Regions from separate parts of the Homo sapiens genome. Here region 1 is linked to region 2. The links are contacts of gene promoters, found by promoter capture Hi-C in blood cells and fetal thymus (Javierre and others, 2016). All regions are on one chromosome and are shown on one strand. Each heading gives the region's core, a stretch centred on a gene start or on the middle of the fragment in contact. The rest is flanking DNA. Distances are from core to core; before and after follow the strand shown.

Region 1 (3,784 bases), core at 552-3,051, 890 kb after region 2:
ACTTATATTACAGCAATGTTGAGCCAGCTGTAGCTCCCTGAACACACCCTATTGTTTCAGGCCTCTATGCTTTCATATCTGCTATATTCCGTCGGTTTCAACACCTCGTCCATAACTGAGCTGCCTGGCAAATGCTTATTCATCTGCTGTGAACTGAGTTGTGTCCTTCCTAAATTCATGTTGAAGCCCTACCCCCCACAATGTGATAGTATTTGGAGACAGGGCCTTTAGGAGGTAATTAAGGTTAAATGAGGTCATAAGGGTGGGGGGCCCTAATCTAGCAGGATAGGTGGCCTTATAAGAAGAGGAAGAGGCTGGCGGAGGCTCACGCCTGTAATCCCAGCACTTTGGGAGGCTGAGGCAGGCAGATCACGAGGTCAAGAGATCAAGACCATCTGGCCAACATGGTGAAACCCCATCTCTACCAAAAATACAAAAATTAGCTAGGCGTGGTGGCACGTGCCTCTAGTCCCACCTTCTCAGCTGAGGCAGGAGAATCGCTTGAACCCGGGAGGCAGAGGTTGCAGTGAGCCGAGATCGCACCATTGTACTCCAGCCTGGCAACAGAGCAAGACTCCATCTCAAAAAACAAAACAAAATAAAACAAATAAAAATAAAAAAAGAAGAGGAAGAGATCTTTCTCTCTCTCTCTTTCTGTTATGTGAGGTCACAGTGAGATGGTGGCATGTATAAGCCAAGAAGACTCCTCACCAGAACCCAGCCATGCTGGCACTCTGAACTCAGGCTTCCAGCCTCCAACACTCCGAGAAATAAATTTCTGCTGTTTAAGCCATCCAGTCTGTGCAATTGGTTATGGCAGCTGAAGCAGAGTAATATATATCATCTTTTAAATTCTTGCTCTGTTATCACCCCCCTTTGGTCTGCCTGCACATCTCAGACAGAATTCAATGCTGTCTCCCTCATGGTACTTCTGTACCTGTCAATGCTTGTATTATTTTATTTTATTTTATTTTTTGAGACAGTTTTGCTCTGTTGCCCAGGCTGGAGTGCAATAGCGTGATCTCAGCTCACTGCAATCTCCGCCTCCTGGGTTTAAGTGATTTTCGTGCCTCAGCCTCCCAAGTAGCTGGGATTACAGGTGCATGCTACCATGCCTGGCTAATTTTTTTATTTTTGTAGAGATGGGGTTTCACCATGTTGGTCAGGCTGGTCTCAAACTCCTGACCTCAAGTGATCCACCTCCCTCTGCCTCCCGAGTAGCTGGGATTACAGGCATGAGCCACCAGGCCCAGCTGGGGTTTCTCCCACAGAACTAGCATGTCAAAGACAAGAGCCTCCCGGGTTCAAGCGATTCTCCTGCCTCAGCCTCCCAAGTAGCTGGGATTACAGGCGCCTGCCACCATGCCCAGCTAATTTTTCTATTTTAAGTAGAGACAGGGTTTCACCATGTTGGTCAGGCTGGTCTCGAACTCCTGACCTCAGGTGATCCACCTGAGTTGGCCTCCCAAAGTGCTGGGATTACAGGCATGAGCCACCATGCCCAGCCATGGATAATTTTAAAAAGCAGTTCAGGGATCAGTCAGGTTGTGGCAGTCACACATCCTGGGCAAATGAAAAACCAACTGCCTGAATGTTATATGAACAGGATAAAATTTCCTGTGGAATCAAAGAGTCCAGTGGAATCAAGCAACACGCGGAAGTGAAGCTGATGTGCTGTGTATCTGATGTAAACCTTAAAAGTGGCTCTGATGATCATGGTGACAGGGTGACATGTCAAAGACGCCTGTGATGACTATAAAAAAAGCAACAGTGTACAGACACTCCTCAACTTATGATGGGTTACGTCCCAATAACCCATTGTAAACTGAAAATATTCTAAGTCGAGATGGGCTTTGTAGACAGGATGGATGCAAAAATGCTGGCAAACAATATTCAAAAAAATGCTGACAACGCAGTACTGTTGAAGGTTTACCCCCATGATTGCAGGGCTGACTAGGAGCTGCGGCTCACAACCACTGCCCAGCATCACAAAAAAGTGTAGCTCCACATATCACTAGCCTGGTAAAAGATCAAAATTCAAAATTTGAAGTACAGTATAGCTTTTGTACCATCACAAAGTCAAAAAATCCTAAGTCAAACCATCATAAGTCAGGGACTGTCTGTAATTTCTAAATTACTGTATTTCTATAATGTGTAATTTCAAATGTAAAGGTATAACTAAGTTGACAACTTGGACATTATAATTACATATTTTTTACTTCACCTATAATCTAAGCGTTTTAAGGAAGACAAAAAGGTTTTTATGGAACTTCACTGAATATAAAGATCCCTTATATACAGGCATAAACAATAAAATAATATATATGTGGTCCCATTTTTATTAAAAATTTCTATATTCTACTGTCCATATTAATATGTGTAGAAATAAATTTTGACATGTATATAGCAAATTATTAGAAATAACTATATCTGAAATATAGAATTAGGAAAGACTTTTTTTCTATACCAAATATCTGTCTTAATAAATATATTTTACTACTATGACCAGAACACATTAAAAAAAGTACATATCCTTAAGCTCAGCAGTTATTCTTACAGAAATTTATTTGAAAGAAATAGTTACAGGCCAGTCACGGTGGCTCAAACCTGTAATCCCAGCACTTTTTTTTTTTTTTGAGACAGAGTTTCACTCGTTGCCCAGGTTGGAGTGCAGTGGTGCGATCTCGGCTCACTGCAACCTCCGCCTCCCGAGTTCAAGCGATTCTCCTGCCTCAGCCTCCCGAGTAGCTGGGATTACAGGCATGCACCACCACACCTGGCTAATTTAGTATTTTTAGTAGAGACGGGATTTCTCCATGTTGGTCAGGCTAGTCTCGAACTCCCGACCTCAGGTGATCTGCCCGCCTCGGCCTCCCAAAGTGCAGGGATGATCCCAGCTACTTGGGAGGCTGAGGCAGAAAAAATCACTTGAACCTGTGAGGCAAAGGTTGTGATGAGCTGAGACTCCGTCCCAAAAAAAAAAAGAAAAAAGGCCGGGCACAGTGGCTCACGCCTGTAATCCCAGCACTTTAGGAGGCTGAGGCGGGCAGATCACCAGGTCAGGAGATCGAGACCATCCGGACTAAAACGGTGAAACCCTGTCTCTACTATACTAAAAAAAAAATACAAAAAAATTAGCCGGGCGTGGTGGCGGGCGCCTGTAGTCCCAGCTACTCGGGAGGCTGAGGCAGGATAATGGTGTGAACCCGGGAGGCGGAGCTTGCAGTGAGCCGAGATCGCACCTCTGCACTCCAGCCTGGGAGACAGAGTGAGACTCCATCTCAGAAAAAAAAAGAAGAAAAGAAATAGTTACAAATATACACAAACATCTAGCTTGCAAGATAATTCTTAACATTTGTTGAGAAATAATTACATGCCAGGCACTATTCTAAGTACATTATATATTTCGATTTATAAAACAAAACTGTTTTTTTAACTCAAATTAAAGATTAGAAAATGACTGAGAGGGTGAGTAACTTGCCTAAGTTTACTCCGCTAGAAAGCAGCAGAGCCAGGATTTAAACCTGTGTCCCCAAGTCCACCCCAAGGTTTGGTGATTCTCTGAAAGGACTCACAAGACTCAGCACACAGTTGCACTCAGAGCTATGATATATGACAGCAAAAGGATACAAAGAAAAGGGAAAAGGTCTACAAGACCAAGTCCAGAGGAAACTAGGTGCAAGCTTCCATGAATTTCCCCCCAGTGTAGTCATTCAGGGTGTGCTTAATTCTTCCAGCAATGAGCTGTGACAACACGTGTGAAATGTCTGCCAGGGAAATTCAC
Region 2 (3,424 bases), core at 598-3,097:
AAGCCCCTCTCTACTAAAAATACAAAAATTAGCGGCGTGGTGGCAGGCGCCTGTAATATCAGCTACTGGGGAGGCTGAGGCAGGAGAATCGCTTGAATCTGGGAGGCGGAGGTTTCAGTGAGCCGAAATTGCACCACTGTACTCCAGCCTTGGGCAACAGAGCGAGACTCTGTCTCAAAAATAAAAAATAAAAAAAAAAGATTACCCTCTCGTAATTTTTCATGCTATTAAGGGAAGAGACAATAAAAAAAATAAGTAAATATTCATTACGCCAGATAGTGATAAATTCTTTGGAGAAAAACAAAGCAGGGTAAGGGAATGGAGAATTTTGGGGGGCTTGCAATTTTCATTAGGGTGGCAATTTTCCTTTTCACGGAAAAGGAGGTGTGTGATAAAGCTGGAAGGAGGTGAGCGAGCATCAGACATGGAATATAAGGATGCAGAGGGTGAGGGGGTAGGGAAAGCATTTTAGGGAGAGGGTACTGCAAGCACGAAGGCCATGAGGCAAAAACCTGTGCTCGGCAATTTGTCTTGGCCACAAAAGCTTTATCCCAGTCGTCAGTCCATTAAACCCTGTAGCTTTAAGTGTTGTGAGATCACAATCTTTATTTTTTAACTTGTGATGGTTCTGGACGGCAATTGCTGTTTCCTGCAATCTGTGGATGAATGAATGAGCAAAGCAGTTAGCAGCGGGATGAGTACAGGGGAGCAGCTCCACACCTGACACCTTATCCAAGTTCCCCCAGACCCTTGGCGCCCTGGTTCCCCCAGAACTTCGTTTGCATTCGTCTTTAAATGTCTTCTCAGTTTGCCTTGGGTCAGTTATTTGTATACCGATTAGACCTGTGCCGCCCACTGCGGTAGCAGCTAGTAGGAATTGGATGTGCTTTAAGTGTAAATACCAGATTTCCAAGACTTGCTGCAAAAACTGTAAAACATTCCACTAACGATTTTGCAATACTGCCTACATGCTGAAATAATTTGACTTTATTGGGTTGAGATATATTACTGTAACTTTCTTTTTTCATTAGAAAAATGTAGCCACTAGCAAATGTGAAGTGTCAGGCGTGTGGCGCGCAGATGCCTCTTTAAACTGGATGGCGCCGGGTTGGCCCTCACTATCAGCGGGCTCCCGACAGGAGGCGCCCCAGCTTGCGGCCGGGGGCAGCGCCTACCAGGCAGTTGGCAGGCAGTTCCAGCCCCGGGCCACGGCACTGCAGGGCCCGAGCCAGGTTACGGCAACCGGGGGCCCTGCAAACAGCTCCCGATTAGGGGGTGCTTTTGGGTGGGAAAGCGCAGGCCCTGGATGGAGGCCCGACCTGCGGCGCTCCAGCTCATCGCCCCGCCTCTTTGCGGCAGAGCTCAGGCCGGCGCAAACCGGTTCAGTGCTAGGACTGACGTCTCGCGCCGCCCAACCGCAGCACGCCCCCGCCTCCCCAGTCCTCTGGAAGAGACAGGGAACGTCTAGCCGCCAGGGTCCCGGGAGGCGGCTCTGTACCAGACGGACTATACTGAGAGCCTATGACAATAGCCGAAGGTGCCGGGGGGGGGGGGGGGGTGGCCTACTACCAATAAAGGAAGGGGAGGGGCGGGCCCTCGTTAGCTTCCCCCCCCTACCACGCTTCCTCGGGCGCGGGTCTACCCAGAGCCTAACGGGCGCGCGAGTGTGGGGGAAGGGCCTGGCGCGGGCTGGAGACTGCGCAGTGCGGTGCCGGCCGGGAGGGGGGGGGGGGGTGACGTAATCTCCGTCCGCGGCCGCGGCGCCCCGCCCCGCGACACCCTCCGCGAACCGCGAGAGCGCAGCGCAGGCGGTCCGCAGCAGCCGCAGCTCGGGGGCGGTGCCTGCCTTGCAGCCTCCCCTCGGCGATCGCGCAGCCCCATCTTTGTCCGGCCTCCGCGCTTTGTTCTCGGCGCCCGGGCCTTGGCCAGCCTGGCCAGCCGCCGAGCAGCCCCCACGCCGCGCTGGCGTCGTCCTCGCCTCCCTCGCCGCCGCCCCCCGCGCGCGGCCGGGCCTTGCCCCCCATGGTGTCCCGGCCAGAGCCCGAGGGCGAGGCCATGGACGCCGAGCTGGCGGTAGCGCCGCCGGGCTGCTCGCACCTGGGCAGCTTCAAGGTGGACAACTGGAAGCAGAACCTGCGGGCCATCTACCAGTGCTTCGTGTGGAGCGGCACGGCTGAGGCCCGCAAGCGCAAGGTGCGCCCGGCAGCCCACCGCGCGGCGGGCTCGGGGCCTTCTGCCGCTCCTGAGGCCGGCCGGCGGAGGGGCCCTTTTCCTGCCCTCTTCCCTTCCCCCGTTGCCTTTCCCTGTCCTTCCTCTTCCTCTCTCCTTCTGCCCTCTCTTCTCTTTACCCCTTCCCCCTCCTTTCCTTCCCCCCTCAACTCTCTCCCTTCCCTTATCTCCTCATCTTCCTATCCTTCCCCTCTCCCCCCTTCCCCCATTCTTCCTTTCCCTCCCCCTCCTCTCTGTCCCCTCCCCCTCCTCTCTGTCCCCTCCCCCTCCTTTCTCTCCGCCCTCCCCCTCCCTTATCCTTCTTGGCCCGGGAGGGGCGAGTGCTTCCGGGCCGGGGGTGGTGTTCTCCTGCCCTGCTGCCTGGGGAGCCTGGGACTTCGGTGGGCGGTCCCGGGCGTTCCTGCGCGAGGTCCTTGCGGGGAACTCTCCTGGTTCTGGAGGGTTCGGGGCTGGATGCGGGTGCAGAGAAAGAAATATTTCAAAAAAATGAGTAAAGGATGGGGGGCTGTCGAGTTCTGGGCGTTGGTCTGCAGCGGTCACCCGCCGCCAGGAGCGACCTTGGACGGGAGCTGGGGCAGGAGGCGGGCTGGGGGGCGCGGGGCCGGAGCTTCGCGGCTGCCTCGGGGCCCGCGAGGAGCTGGAGGTGGAGGGCGGCAGGGGCTGGGGCCGGGGCGAGCCTGTGGGTGCGGAGCCACAGCCCGGGTTTGCGTTGCGGCTGAGGAGTAGACTTGGAAGCGCGCCGTGGGCTGTGGGAGGCCTTAACCAGGAGTGAGTCCCCTCGGGGAGCCCAGTCTTGCGTCCCGCAGTTAGGCTTGGTAAGGGTTTGGAAATCAAAACGTAACGTGATTCTTCTATGTGAATAAAGTTTATTTTTACAGTTTCACGCGCTTTTGTAGATTACAATCCGAGATTGGGAGTTGTGAGGGCAGTTTCCACCTTGAGTGGCATTTTTTTATTTATGGGAATACCAACAGGCTCGCTGAGATTGTAGGGTATGTTAAGCAGTAATTCAAAAAAAAAATTATTTTTTTGAGACGAAGTCTCGCTTTGTACCCCAGGCTGGAGTGCAGTGGCGCGATTTCGGCTCACTACAATCTCCGCCTCCCGGGTTCAGCCGATTCTCCTGCCTCAGCCTCCTGAGTAGCTGGGATTACAGGCTCCTGCTACCACGCCCGGCTAATTTTTGTATTTTTAG

Evidence for each region. The method cuts DNA at HindIII sites, captures the fragments that hold promoters and counts their contacts. A CHiCAGO score of 5 or more calls a contact.
Region 1: a contact is called between a fragment that was not itself captured here and the fragment with the promoter of USP22 in region 2, in 1 of 17 cell types (naive B cells). The highest score is 5.7, in naive B cells.

The regions. Positions count from the first base shown.
Region 1 is chr17:20,149,490-20,153,273 of GRCh38, reverse strand. The region is part of intron 3 of SPECC1 (sperm antigen with calponin homology and coiled-coil domains 1); the gene reads right to left. Among named protein-coding and RNA genes, the nearest start is that of SPECC1, 140 kb to the right of the region's middle. The HindIII fragment of the contact is 3,769 bases long and covers 1-3,685 here.
Region 2 is chr17:21,041,434-21,044,857 of GRCh38, reverse strand. USP22 (ubiquitin specific peptidase 22) reads left to right here and starts at 1,847. Exons shown (of 13, transcript NM_015276.2): 1 at 1,847-2,193. The coding sequence starts at 2,023. RefSeq lists enhancers at 129-1,076, 1,077-2,026 and a silencer at 1,562-2,161. The HindIII fragment of the contact is 4,087 bases long and covers 547-3,424 here.